Regions from separate parts of the Homo sapiens genome. Here region 2 is linked to region 1. The links are contacts of gene promoters, found by promoter capture Hi-C in blood cells and fetal thymus (Javierre and others, 2016). All regions are on one chromosome and are shown on one strand. The core of a region is centred on a gene start or on the middle of the fragment in contact, and the rest is flanking DNA. Distances in the headings are between cores, read along the strand shown.

The links. Contacts are between HindIII fragments. The CHiCAGO score rates a contact against its expected background, and 5 or more counts as called.
Region 2: a contact is called between a fragment that was not itself captured here and the fragment with the promoter of SF3B6 in region 1, in 4 of 17 cell types (neutrophils, naive CD4 T cells, non-activated CD4 T cells and 1 more). The highest score is 10.3, in neutrophils.

What each region holds. Positions count from the first base shown.
Region 1 is chr2:24,071,504-24,078,779 of GRCh38, forward strand. It overlaps SF3B6 (splicing factor 3b subunit 6), which reads right to left and starts at 4,823. Exons shown (of 4, transcript NM_016047.4): 1 at 4,697-4,823; 2 at 2,573-2,691. The coding sequence starts at 4,726. TP53I3 (tumor protein p53 inducible protein 3) reads right to left here. Exons shown (of 5, transcript NM_004881.5): 5 at 5,930-6,258. The coding sequence ends at 6,076. It also overlaps a transcript of FAM228B not described here. RefSeq lists enhancers at 4,109-4,641, 4,642-5,173, 4,708-4,937 and a silencer at 5,048-5,697. The HindIII fragment of the contact is 6,266 bases long and covers 1,490-7,276 here.
Region 2 is chr2:24,791,849-24,799,124 of GRCh38, forward strand. CENPO (centromere protein O) reads left to right here and starts at 1,577. Exons shown (of 8, transcript NM_001322101.2): 1 at 1,577-1,653; 2 at 2,004-2,117. The coding sequence starts at 2,072. It overlaps PTRHD1 (peptidyl-tRNA hydrolase domain containing 1), which reads right to left and starts at 1,543. Exons shown (of 2, transcript NM_001013663.2): 1 at 1,278-1,543. The coding sequence starts at 1,529. It overlaps LOC105369164 (a long non-coding RNA gene), which reads right to left and starts at 1,227. Exons shown (of 3, transcript XR_939843.4): 1 at 919-1,227; 2 at 536-736. RefSeq lists an enhancer at 1,204-1,633. The HindIII fragment of the contact is 3,129 bases long and covers 3,014-6,142 here.

The DNA of each region.
Region 1 (7,276 bases), core at 3,573-6,072:
CTGAGGCTGGAGAACCACTTGAACCTGGGAGGCGGAGTTTGCAGTGAGCCGAGATCGTGCCATTGCACTCCAGCCTGGGCAACAAGAGCGAAACTCCATCTTAAAAAAAGAAATGTTTCATACAAGAAGTAGAAAGCTGTAACAGATAGGGAAACAGGGAGCTACTTCAGCTAGGGTGGTCAGGGAAAACCCCTCTGAAAAGGTGACACTGAAGCTGAGACCTGAAGAATGAGGAGGAGCCAGGCATGAGATGAGCTGGTGAAAACCATTCCAGATACAAGGAAAATAGAAGCACAAAGGTTCTGAGCTGCTCTGCACTCTTCTGAAGATGCCCCTGCTTTATTCCCTGTCCTTTCATTTTGGCTTTCTGAAACATTCTCTAACTTCACTGATTTTAAGCATCCCTTAATTGAGTACTATCAATAAATTTTATAATGCCCTAGTAAACCAATCACAACCACTTTTTATATTATTCTTCTATTTTCTTTTCTTTTGTTGAAACAGGATCTCACTCTGTCGCCCAGACTGGAGTGCAGTGGCATGATCTCGGCTCACTCACTGCAGCCTCAGCCTCCCAGGTTCAAGCGATTCTCCCACTTGAGCCTCCTGAGTAATTGCATTACAGGCGCGTGCCACCATGCCCAGCTAATTTTTGTATTTTTTTTTAGAGAGGGGGTTTCACCATTTGGCCAGGGTGGTCTCGAACTCCTAACCTCTGGTGATCTGCCTGTCTCGGCCTCCCAAAGTGCCGGGATTACAGGTGTGAGCCACCACATCTGGCCTATTCTACTATTTTCTATATTATTCATTTAGTATACATCGGGTGCTTACCATGTATCGCACAAGTGCTATCAACACAAAAACAAAAATAATATATGGTACGAGCCCTGGAGGAACTCACAACCTGCCCAGGGTGACAGATGAATATAGAGACAACAGCAAAACCATGTGTTAACCTAGGAGAGACACATGGAAATGCTATGGGAGCAGAAGAGTGGCTAATGTACACTGGGAAGGAAAACTGATAAAGTACCTTCACAGACACTGTGTAATTTCATCCAAATTAAAATTCTTTTAAGACAGTAGGTTAGGAAGACTGTATTTCATAGATAATTGAAACCCAGATAAGGTTAAATATTTTCTCCAGTTTCGTAAGAGTAGGCAAGCCAGTATTTGAACCCAGGCCTTACAACCAATCTATGCTGTTTCCACATTAAAAGCTAAAAGGCCACCACCCAGATTATCTCATACATGAAGAGAAAACCAAAAAAGCTAGGCAACTAGTCACACACATGGCTAGTAACAAGGCCTGAAGTAGAATCTTGTCTCCTGATCCCCAAGGCAGGGATTCGCCATGTTGGCCAGGCAGGTCTTGAACTCCTGGCCTTGTATACCATTCTGTATCTAGAGCAGGGTTTCTTGACCTAGAGTCCATGTATCCCCTGAAATATATGCAACATGAGTGTATTCTTCTGTGGAAGGAGTCTAAAGCTTTTATCAGATGCTCAAAGGACTGAGACCTCCTAAAAAGGACAGCTGGTCTATAACACTTTCACTTTCATCCCCATCTGAGTACCAATGATCATGTATTTCCAGCTCTTGGTTTACTCTCTGGAGGGACAGTGTCATTCAAAAGGAGGGTCCTCAAGACCTCATAGTCCTAAAGCCAGGAAGGAGCTCTCAAGTCATACAAGACGGAATTCCGACTAGAAATAAAAACTTTATACGTAGTCATTACTGTGGTAAAATAATAATTTTTTTAAAATAAAAACTTTAGAAATCCTTTCAGATGGACTCTTAAGTCACTAGCCCTTTCATATGAGTTCGGGTGTCAGAGGCTATGGTACTGTGTAATGTAGAGGTTCAATTTAGAGTCAGAAGATTTTACCACTAAGCACTGTAAGATAGAAAGGTACTTTACTCTCAGGGCTATAGTTTTGTTGATCCAAATAAAAGCACTTATTATGGTTAATGGTATTCAGTAGATGTCCAGTAAATATCACTTGAAGGTATGAACCCCAATCTTTATATTAAATTAAAACGTGAATGCTTGTAATTAGATGTTTTCCTCTATACTTTTACATCTTCAATTGAAAGAGCTGTAGTTGAAAATATCATTTTTTTCTGTTACTTTTATACTCTTTTACTTAGTTTATTCAGAAATTCTGGGGTTATTTAAAGAGACAGTGATGATTGTTGAGAAAATTATAGAGCTGCTGCATACAAAAAACACAGTGTAACAAGCTAGCTTTACAAATAACAGGTATGCAATAAATGTTAGTTCTTTCCCTTCTCAACCAGTTTCCTCAAAGCATTCATTACTACTTCAATGAATGCTTTGAGGAAACTCAAATCCTCTTCTTGGCTCTCATTGAGCTGGATCATTAGGGTCTCAGTAGGTTTTCTCCCCCCTTCAAAAAGATCTCATCTCTCTGATCTCAATCTGCTAGTCTCAAGGCTCTTGGTAAGGGTTGTCGCACTGCACACAGCACAGGGTGGCCTCATCGTCAGCTATAATTCTGAAATTACAGATTATGCTATCATTTTCTTTAAATGACTCAGTAAGACTCACACTCTGATTTGACGAATAGGTCCATATTTCCCAAATATATCATACATTTCTTCAGCTGTGATTTTGTATGGCAAATTTCTTATATACAATATCCGATTTACTTCAGGTGGAAGTCGAATCTAAAATGAGAAATACGTATTGTTATTATAATTAGGGGCATTCTAAAAAATTATAATTTAAATGCCCCTATAATTAGGGGCATTTTAAAAAATTCTTAATGATACGTAATAATAAAAAGCCAAGAATAAGAGGTATAATTTGATGTTTCTGAAAATGGGCAGATCTTTGAAAAAGCAACAGAGGCTGGGTGCAGTGGCTGGTCCCTATAATCCCAGCACTTTGGGAGGCAAAGTGGGAGGATCACTTGAGCCCAGGAGTTTGAGACCAGCCTGGACAACATAGTGAGACCCCCATCTCTACAAAAATTTTAAAAAATTAGCCAGGCATGGTGGTGGGTGTAGGCCTTTGCAAACCTTACCACCATCACTCCTGCTAACACCTGAGTTGGGCTGTACCCTCTTCCCTGCCCATCCCAGGAGATGACCCTGATTCTTGTTTCTTGGAGAAAATAGACATGACCAATTGAAATACTTTTCATCTATATCCAACTACTTTCCCTCTATTACTACGCCAACCTTCATCTACTCAAAACCTTCACTTCTAAACTCAACCTATCTTTCTTCCATATCATGTTTCGCACACTCTGCTGGATTGCTCCCATTGGCATAAAGATACACCTATATCACACATCTTTTAAAAAGTCAACTATCTGGCCGGGTGCGGTGGCTCATGCCTGTAATCCCAGCGTTTTGGGAGGCCAAGGCAGGTGGATCACTTGAGGTCAGGAGTTTGAGACCAGCCTGGCCAACACGGAGAAACCCTGTCTCTACTAAAAATACAAAAATTAGCCGGGCATGGTGGTGGGCACCTGTAATCCCAGCTACTCAAGAGGCTGAGGCAGGAGAATTGCTTGAACTCAGGAGACAGAGGTTGCAGTGAGCCAAGACTGTGCCACTGCACTCCAGCCTGGGTGACAGAGTGAGAGTCCATCTCAAAAAAAAAAGTCAACTATCATCCAATTTCCCTACTTCCTATTTAAATGAGAACTCATGGACAGAGTGTCTTTGCTGTTTCCATTTTCTCAACTTCCACCATCTTTTCACCCCACTGCAATCAAGTTTTCATCCACTGAAATGATTCCTATCATCAAGGTCACCAAAAGTCTCCATTTACATATACAATGGTCAATTGCTTGTCTTTTCTTTCTTTCTTTCTTTCTTTCTGTTTTTTTTTTTTTTTTTGAGTCAGGGTCTTGCTCTGTCTCCTGGGCTGAAGTGCTGCGCAGTGGCACAATCATGGCTCAAGGCAGCCTTGAATTCCTGGGCTCAAGCAATCCTCCCACCTCAGCCTCCAAAAGTGCGGGGATTACAGGCATGAGCCACCTCACTCGGCCTAACTTCATCTTACACCTCTAAGCGTTTTACTGTTGACTAATCTCTTTTTTGAGTTTTTTTTTTTTAAAAGTTTCCGTAACACTGTACTCTCAAACACTAGAATGTAAGCAGAAGGACTTGTTTTATTCACTGCTGTATTCCCAATACGTAAGACTAGTGTCTGGCACATAGTAGCTATTCAATAAATATAATTGATGAATTATGTCCCACATGGCAAGCAGAATACATAGTAGGTGCTCAAAAAATATTGTTTTAATTAATGTGTTAATGAAGGATCCGAAAAGCACCATGATCTGAGGGGAATCCCAGGTCCTAGTTGTTGGTGAACCATTAAGTTAGTTGAGGACTCTTCTGAGATATCGACTTTAAGTCAAGGAGATAATCCTAACGCCAGGTCCTTAGGTGCGGGTCAAGCAAAGAGGCTATAGGGGTAACACTATCACTGACACTAGGGTAGAGACTGAGGAACTCTCAAAAGGGGTGGGGACAGAAATGTGGCTCAAGGAGCATATCTCTGAGGATGGGGCCGGATAGTGTCTTCGCTGACAGGATAGGAATTCTGGAGTTCTCCGCTCTGGGGACGGAGGAGGAGCAAGAATGCTCCGATCCACGCCGCTAAGAAAGTCAAACCCGAAGTTCTCCCACCCTCCGCAGAACACCCGATACTCACGTTCGCCCTCTTGGCCGCTTGCATCGCCATCTTGGCGGGCTGATGAAGTTACCGTAGCAGATACTGAAATTCCTCCGGAGCTCGCTCGGCTTCGGGGGTTACACCGCGTTAGATGCAGGACATCAACATCCAGGACCCGCCGGAAGCTGTTACAGCGGAATAGCGCCGTCTTACGCTGAGACGCGCTGACGTAGCAGCCCCCTTCGAATAGACTCCGGGGTAAAACCGAGCCTGAGCGAGACTCGAGGCCGGAAGATGGAAAGGCGAGAGTCCAAGACACTTCCGGGCTCTGTACCGTAAAGGGCGGGGCGTAGCCTCCAAAAGGCGAGATGTTCCGGTCGGGGAGGCCCTGAGCAGAGGAACCCGGGTGGAGAGGGCGGGGCCTGAGGAGGGCGGAGAGCTGGGGCGGGTCTCAGGTGAGTAACTGGGGAGCGGAGGAGGCGGGGCTTGAGCAGGGTTATGACAGGTAGGGCGGGACCCAGGTGAGTAGCGGGAGGGGGCGGGGCCTGAGGAGGGTGCGGAGAGCTGGGGTGGGGCCCAAGTGAGTATCCGGGAGGGAGCCGGGCCTGAGCAAGGCGGTGAGCTGGGGCGGGACCCAAGTGAGTAATGGAAGGGGCGGGGCCTGAGGAGGGTGGTGGCGGTGGGGCGGGGCCCAGATGTGTAGCGGGAGGTGGTGGGGCCTGAGGAGGGTGGCGAGAGGTGGGGTGGGGCCCAGGTGAGTAGCGGGCGAAGGCGGGGCCTGAGGAGGACTGAGCTGGGGCGGGACCCAGGTGAGTAGCGGAAGGGATCGGGGCCTGAGGAGGGTGGTGGAGGTGCGGCGGGGCCCAGAAGTGTAGCAGGAGGTGGTTGGGGCTGAGGAAAGTGGTGGAGGTGGGGCGGGGCTCAGATGTGTAGCGGGAGGTGGTGGGGCCTGAGGAGGGCGGCGAGAGGTGGGGTGGGGCCCAGGTGAGTAGCGGGCAGGGCTGGGGCCTGCTGTGGTGCCCACTGGTTGCGGGGCGCGCGGGCAGGTGCCGGAGGTGGTGGGCCTGGGCCTCTAGCTGTGCGCAAGGCGGAATATGTGGGGTTCTGGCGGCTTGTGTCACGGCTGACGCTGTAACTATACCCAGAATCTCCGTCCCTGGAGGGGCCCTCAGGTTGAGCGTCAGCTGATCGGGCCTCAGTAATCCCCGCTGCGACGCCCGTCCGGACTCCCACCTCAACCCCGCCGCGGCGGCCCCAGTCCGCGTGCCACCCTTCCAGTTCACTCTTTATTTCCTCATATCAGCTTTAAACGGCTCTGGAGGAAGCACCGGGTTTCTTGGCCTGTCTATTGTGAATCTTCTCCAGGTTTGCTCTGGAAAGGCCTGGGGTGGCCGCGTCCTGTCCTGCCCCATCCTCCTTCACTGGGGCAGTTCCAGGACGATCTTGCCTATGTTCTTGTTGGCCTCCATGTACTTATGGGCCTCCTGGATTTCGGTCACTGGGTAGATTCTGTCCAGAACCGGCAGCAGACGTTGGGGGCCCTCCGTGGAGAAGTGAGGCAGAATTTGCTCCGTGAAAGCATTCACCAGCATTTGCTTGTACTAAGACAAGGGAAAGGAGATCATCAGCCTGGGGAGAGAGCCTCACCCTGCCCTCCTCATCCTCCTCAGCCTTCTTGCTCTCTCTGAAGCCACGTATCTGAAAAAGCACACAGGGACACTTAACCCCTCACTTCCTAGCATGTGTGTGAAATACCCTTGAAGGAGTCATGTGCCATCTCAGAATATGTCCGATAGGTATATTGTTAATTTTGAGGTGAAAGCATTGGAGAAATTGTAGTTTCAGAAAAGGCTAGCTGACCTGTCTCTTCTTGCATGTAGCAAGTCATAAAGATTCCTCTGAGAGGGGTACCCTCCCCATACTAGGGCAAAAAGCCCTTATCACCAGAGACTGGAAACGGGGCTGCAATGGAACTGAATAAATACACTTAAGGAAGTAACCCTTATCTTCCACTAGTTTTACACCCCCCACCCCCATATATCTCCTAGTGACTTCCCTAGAAATTTACTATCCCTAGCCAGATTTTGTCTTATTTCTTCTCAAATTTATTGTTCTTTGTCTAAAAATTACAAAAGCATCTTACTTTGGCCGAATCACTTGAGCCTGGGAGTTTGAGATCAGCCTGGGCAACATGGTGAAAACCTGTCTCTATAAAAAATACAAGCCAGGCATGGTGGTATGCCTTCAGTCTTAGCTACCCAGGAGGCTGATTGTGCCATTGCACTCCAGCCTGGGTGACAGAGTAAGACCCTGTCTCCATAAAAAAAAAAAAAAAAAAAAAAAGTACATGCTTTTCTCCTGTCAATCTGCTGGTATCAATTTGGTTTCTAGAGCCAGCTGAAGAGACCACATAGGAGCTAAAGGGGGGTTACAGGTGATCTCTGGCTCCCTTGTACCTCCAAATGTGTAACTTCTGTTCTGTACCAGATAAAGACTGAAGCCTGGAGTAAAATGTTAGTGTCACTGACAGCCTAAGAATTGTTTTTAAATAAAGTGTCTTTACCCAGGAGGCAGCCACAGATAGGACTCATATAGGCTTAGTGAAAAAAGGATGCTTAA
Region 2 (7,276 bases), core at 3,328-5,827, 720 kb after region 1:
TAATCCTGGTATTTTCTTATATTTTATTGGCCCTTCTGACTACAGCGGCACCTCAATGTAATCAGTAGCGACTCCTAAGTCCCTTTCTTGAGTCATGACTAACAACTAAGAATCATGAGACCCTCTTTTAAACTCAGGGGAGTCACTTAATCCCTGTAGGCTTCAGAGAGTTTCACCTGCGACAAGAGGAGTCTAACCTGATTTCTTGAGACCTCTTACTAGGAAGAAAATCTAAGTGAAAAGCCAGCAGCTTCTGTTCTGCCTACACAGATTCTCAAGGCATTTTTCCTACAGGTTACCGCTTGATGTTTCACTATCCAGCAGCAATTTTTCTCTTGAAAGATAATCTATCTTTGTCAGTTACCCATGAAGGGATTACTCCACCCCTCCACCTGAGTTCTGGCTTAAAGCCGTTTTTCCTTATTATAAAAAGCCGTTTATTATTAAAGCCGTTTTTCCTTATTATAAAATATGTGCTTAAGGTAGAAAATTTTAAAAATACAGATTAAGCATTAGGAAATAACCAAAATCTCACCATGCACTACTTAATATGTAGATGTATTTCTTTAGTTTTTCCTTTCAAAGTCTGGATCATTCTGTATATATAGTTCAGTTAGCTTCGCATCATGAGCACTCTTCCCGACCACTAAATATGCTTCAAAACCATAAGGGCTCCCATGAATATCCTTGTGCAAAGCTCTTTGGGTGCATCTGATTATTTTCTTAGGCTACATCTCTAGCAGCAGGATAGAGAGTCAAAGGGTAAGGGTGAGATTTGTTTGGTCATCTGCAAACAGAACCTGACTGCTATTTTAAAAGGTGTACCGATTTACACACCTGGTGCCTGGTCTAGCTGAAGCTAGGTTCAATTTATACTAACGTTTTTAGTATTTATTTTCAAATAATTTGGCGTCCTACCCAGGTAAATACTCAGTTTGACTTCACTTTGCACTGTCCCTTCGGGCTCGGTTTTGCAGGAGGACAGCACTTTGGGGCATGGCTTTAAAAAGTCGGCCAGTGCACAGGCGGAACAGCGGGGACACAGGAGCCACCACTTTACCGCGAGCCCAGCAGGGGGCGGAGGACTGCTGTCCACTCTTCACACAGTCAGGCCCTTCCCAAGGGCGCACCTCCAGGGAAACAGCTCCAGTCTAAATGTTAACGATCACCCCAACTCCCGCCGCACCCACTCCCCGCAGCCAGGCCTTCGGACCGAAGACCACACCCACTTCCGCCCTCGATGTCTCAGCACCTCCCCCTCCGCCCGAGTGCCTCACCTCGAGGACCACTTTGCGCATGCGCCCCAGCTCTTGGAGGTAAGCGGCTGTGTGCGGGTGGTCGCGGTGAGTGTGCAAGGCCGCGGTGGCCGCGTGACAAGCCTGCGCTACCAGTGCGCCCGCCGGCCAGGAGAACGGAGCTTGTGATAGATCCTTTCGTAACACCAAGTATTGTACCAGGACCTGCGGCTCCGCCCCAGAGGCCGCCATCTTCCTGACCACCCGAAAGGCCGGACCTACTCCCCGGTGCATCTTGGGATCAGGGCGGGGCCCTGAGCGCCGCCATGCTTTTGTACGGCAGGATCGCAAAGCACGCCGGGACCGGTTGGTTTGGTTTTGAAGACGTGGATGGCGGGAATTCTCGCTTCTGGCCTGGGTGAGCTAGAAGGGAGAAGGTAGGGGAAAGACCCATTGTCGGACCGGACCGTGGCCAGGGTGGCGGGCTGAACGGCCTTCTTAAAACTCCTTCCGTGGCCGGGAAGCCCGCTGGACCAGAGTAGCCGTGGCCTCGGGAGCGCGCCGGGGCCGCGGGATGGGCGCGGGGGTGGGCATGGACTCTGCTGGCTCGGACGATGGGAGAGGGCGGGCGGCTCAGGAAAGGGGATCCTAGCCGTGACATTTGTGTCATCCGCGGCCCAGGGGTTGTGCCTGAGTGGTGTGTGCCCTGCCGTCTGGGTTTGAATGGGACTAGATGTGATGTGACTGTTGCCATTTTTCTTTTATTAGCAAGGACATTGGAGTCCCTATCACCGGTTGCCTAGACAACTTCATGGGAAGGCCCTTGGGAATCTGAGATGGAGCAGGCGAACCCTTTACGTCCAGATGGCGAGTCCAAAGGAGGTATTCAGAGGGTCGCCGCCTCCTTCCTGCTGCTGCCCAAAGATGACCCGCAGGCTGAGAGAGCCCTTTCCTCCTGGAACTGACGTGGGACCTGGCCTGTTTGGGAGCAGAATAGTGAAAGGAACTAACATTGAAGACAAAGGGACAGGCAGCCAAGATTATTCGAGGAGGAAAAATGGCTTCGTTTCTAGGCTCCCACCCCTTTTGAAACGGATAAGTTGCATCCATCATATGCTCAGTGTTTATATTCTGAACTGCGGTTCTAGCCAGGGAGGTCCCTTTCCTCTCCCCGGATTTTTTGGGCCATGTATGCATTACTCTTGAGGGAGGGCCAGTGTAGGGCAGTGACTTTAGTGTTGGCTAGAACTGGTTTTGAGTGTTGGCTCTGCCATGATAAATATTGTGACCTTAGGCAAGTCACTTTATTCTCTGCCTCTGTTTCTTCATCTGGAAAATGGAGGTGAAAATAGCACTGTAGTTGTGGTTGTGGAAAAAGTATTTCTTTTGTGGTGGAAAAGTATTGAACTCAGACTTTTCAAGTGAAGCATTTAGCACATGTCTAATATATAGGAAATATTCAATGAAAGGCTTAATTCTTTACATACTTTGTGTCTTAAAATGTAGAAGGTGTTTAAAGAATGCTTGTTAGAGTTGCTTAGAATTACGAAACTATTACTTTTACTTAGTCCTTAGTCAATCCTTTGGAAACTGAGATTTGCGTTTGAATTTCTGTCCAGGAGTAAGTTGCTTTCTTCTTTAGTGCCTAGTAATATTTGTGGACAGTTCTGGTTTTGTGTGACTTTATGTTCTTTGCTACTAATACTTTTTAGAACTTTGAAATACTTACTCAAGCCTGATGCCTAAATCCAAAGGGTTCTACGTTAGTACTTTGGGAAAGCTTGCCATAAAACCTAACTTAAATTACAGTTTTAAAAAGAATTTCTGAGCGCGTCAGTGAATTTGGTTATCCTATTTTTCTCTGGGTCATCATTATCATTGATAACAGAGAAGTAACTATATTCAGCCTAAGATGACTTAAGCTGAGACTTTAGATAATAAAAGTATATGGGGTAAGATTTATTGTTACTTTAAGACTAAAAATAAGTTTGGTGACTTTATGTAGTGGAAACATGCTACACTCAGGAGTAACCTGTTCTCTAGTCCAGGCCTTATTTCATTTCTGTTAAAGTAAGTGATGAGGTGGAAGTTTTGGATTATCAAGAGACTTAGACCAGTCTCCTTATTCTCTACCCAAAACAATATTTAAACACTTAGCTGTTACCCATACTGGTTTTATCCCTCTGCTTGTTTGATTTCAGTTTTTTGCTTATTATTTGAATTCTCCCCACTCATTTGAGAAGGAAGGACATGGAGTTGTAGTTGCAACCAGATGATTTATTCAAATAGGCAGGGATTTTGACTTTTTTTGGGACAAAGCTGACTGGCTAGGATGAGATGCAATCATAACTTCCAAGGTAAAGCAGGCCCAGCAGATACACTCCCTCTTTTCTGTAGTAGCAACGCTAAACAACAACGCTACCCCCTTGGTGTAGAGGGAATCAGGTCGGTAAAGAAGCTGGGCAGGTTTGAGAGCCTGAGAAGAGGGCTGTGTGGAAGTGCCTAGAGAAGGAGCAGCATGATACTGTTTTGAACACCTACTTATCTCAGAAACTTTGGGAATATTGATATCTACTGTTTTAGTAATATAGAATTTCCATAAAGTAGAATTTGGTGAGGCGTCTCCTCTACCACCCTAAATTATTCTATGTGTGCGTGCTTTTCAGATCACCTCCTGGTTGGACATTAATTTTTGTAAGCTCCGTGAGGACAGGGACTTCGTTTTGCCACCACAGTATGAATAACTTCCAGCACGGTCCTTGGTCCATAGTAAATTCTCAATGCATAGTTGTTGGATAAATAGAGATTGGTGAATAAAGCAGTTAATCACGTGCTAATTATTAGGACTAATTTATTTAATTAGAATTTTGGTTTCTCACGATTATTATTGCGGTAATGTGGGTTTTTCTGTGGACATGAGCCAAGTGAATGTAATCTCCAAGAGTGTCATGCCTGGTTGTCCGTGTTTCGGTAAACATTTCCGGAGTGTTGGCCGGGCGCGGTGGCTCACACCTGTAATCCCAGCACTTTGGGAGGCCAAAGCGGGTGGATCACAAGGTCAGGAGTTCAAGACCAGTCTGGCTAACATAGTGAAACCCCATCTCTACTAAAAATACAAAAATTAGCCGGGCATCGTGGTGCATGCCTGTAGTCCCAGCTAATTGGGAGGCTGAAGCAGGAGAATTGCTTGAACCTGGGAGGTAGAGGTTGCAGTGAGCTGAGATCGCGCCACTGCACTCCAGCTTGGGCAACAGAGTGAGATTTCGTCTCAGAAAAAAATAACCATTTCCGGAGTGTTTACCATGTGTAAACACTTTGTGCTAGGGTTAAGGGATCCATGGGTGAACACAAATGCACACGGTCCCTGATTTTGGAACTTTAAGGTTCAGTGGAAAAGATAAGCAAATCAAATAATCACACTAATGAATATACAATTAAAACTATAGTGGCCGGGTGCGGTGGCTCACGCCTGTAATCCTAGCACTTTGGGAAGCCGAGGTGGGAGGATCGCTTGAGCTTAGGAGTTTGAGACCAGCCTGGGAAACATAGTGAGACCCCATCTCTTTATTTAAAAAACAAAAACAAAAAAACTATAGTATTGTCTCAGAAGGATCTTTGAGAGCTTATGAGCTGGCACCTGACCTTGTTCTGAAGGTGCTACAAAGGTTTCCCTGAGGAAATGCTGCTTGCATTGAGTGCTAACGAGCTAGAGTAGCTGCAGGTGAAGGTGGATAAGGGGCGGCTGTGGAAGAGCCTTTGGTGTGTGTGTTGGGGGTGGGGGGATCAGGTCAGTAAAGACGCTGGGCGGGTTTGAGAGCCTGAGAGGAGGCCTGTGTGGAAATGCCTAGAGAAGGAGCAGCATGATACTGATGAGGGTAAGAGAGATCCAGAGGCCAGTAGGCCTCGTAGGCAGTGTGAAGTCATCGAAAGGCTTTAGCCAGCTGGATGACACGATCCAGTTTAGATTTTGAAATATGGCTTCAGTGTATGGGCCACCTAGGAAACTTGTAATAGGCCAGAAATGGTAGTAGCTTGAACTACAATGGTGGCATTGCAGATGGGGAAAATGGAAATATTTTAGAGATACTAGGAATGTATATTCAATAGGATCTGGTAATGGATTGGGACTGGGTCAGGGAGAAGGTGTGAGGAAGAAAGTACTGGTTTACACAGCTATAGATGGATAATGGTTCCAGTCATGGAGGGGTTTAGAAGGGGAGATGATGAATTCAGTCTTGGACATGTTGATTGTCAGGTTCCTGTAAGTCTTCCAAGTAGATACACTGAGAAGGCAGGTGGATATTCTGCTTTCTCAAGAAGCAGGAGAGAGGTATAAGCTAGAGATACATATTTGTGTGGCATCGACATGTATGGCCATTAAGGCTGTGGGTACTGATGAGATTTCTTCTGGAAAGAAGAGGTCTTAGGACTGAGCTCTGGAAAATTTCAGCATTTAATGGTCAAGGAGGAGAGTAGGAGCCTTCAAAGCAGAAAGTGGGGTCAGAGAGGTAAAATGTAAGTGTCACAAAAACAGGTTGTCTGTTGTTCATCACTATGTTCCCAGTGCCTGAAATAGTACTTGGCACAAAATAGATGCTTAATAAACATCTGTTGAACAAGGCATACCAACAGGCCGCTATGCTAAGATTCAGAGGAAAAGAGGGTTTCGTGAAGGTGGTGATCAGTAGGAGCATATAGTGCTGGGAGGTGAGATAAGGGAGCTTGAAAAATGTCCTTTGGGTTCAGCAACATGGATATCACTGTTGATCTTAGAGTGGTTTTGTAAAATAATGGGAACAGAAGTGAGTTTCAAGTGGGTTGAGGTATGAGTCACAGGCAAGAAAATGGAGAAAGTGAGTACAAGTTGAGCACTGAAGATCCAAAATCTGAAATACTCCAAAATCTGAAGCTTTTTGAGCACTGACATGATGGTCAAAGGAAATGCTTATTTCCAGTTTTGGATTTTCAGATATGGGATGTTCAGCCAGTAAGTGTAATGCAAATACTCCCAATTCCGAAATCTGAAACACCTCTAGTCCCAAAACGTTCGGATACTCAACTTGCATGGACAACTCTTTTAAGTAGTTTTCCTGGAAAGGAAAGGGGAGAAAAGGGAGATAGTAGCTGAAGGGGATTTGTGGGCAAGAATAGGCCTGTGAGTGTATGAAATTGTGTGTGTGTGTATGTGTGTGTATATATATATATATATATGAGTGTGTGTTTGAAGACAGTTGAGACTTGAGCGTGTGTGGAAGGGAAATGAACACAGCAGAGAAAAGGGTAACTGATCATTTAGGGTTTCTGAGAAAGCAAGGGGATAGGCCTCAATGAGTAAAATAGGATAATTCTGCATATAGTGCGTGTCTGTTTCTATTTGATCTCACACAAATTTTTTTTTTTTGAGACGGAGTCTGTCACCTAGGCTGGAGTGCAGTGGCACGATCTTGGCTCACTGCAAGCTCCGCCTCCTGGGTTCACGCCATTCTTCTGCCTCAGCCTCCTGAGTAGCTGGGACTACAGGTGCCCGCCACCACACCCGGCTAATTTTTTGTGTTTTTGGTAGAGACGGGGTTTCACTGTGTTAGCCAGGATGGTCTTGATGTCCCGACCTCGTGATCCACCCGCCTCGGCCTCCCAAAGTGCTGGGATTACAGGCGTGAGCCACCGTACCCGGCCCGATCTCACATACTTTTTTTTAATGGTTTTATTAGCCATAAAAACCATAAGAGGTTTCTAGTCTTAATTGGATAGGTGAATGAGATAAGTTTTTGGATTCCGTCCCAAGGCAAGGAGAGAAGATTAAGGTTTTCATATATGTTCATCCATATGAACCCTACAAAATAGATGCTGGGTGTACTTAAGAAGCTCGATTAAATAAAGTCTGGGGCTTCCTTTTTTTTTTTTTTTTTTTTTTTTTTTGGAGACAGTCTTGCTCTGTCCCCCAGGCTGGAGTGCAATGGCACTCCAATGGAGTGCAGTGATCTTGGCTCACTGCAACCTCCGCCTCCTGGATTCAAACAATTCTGCCTCAGCCTCCCGAG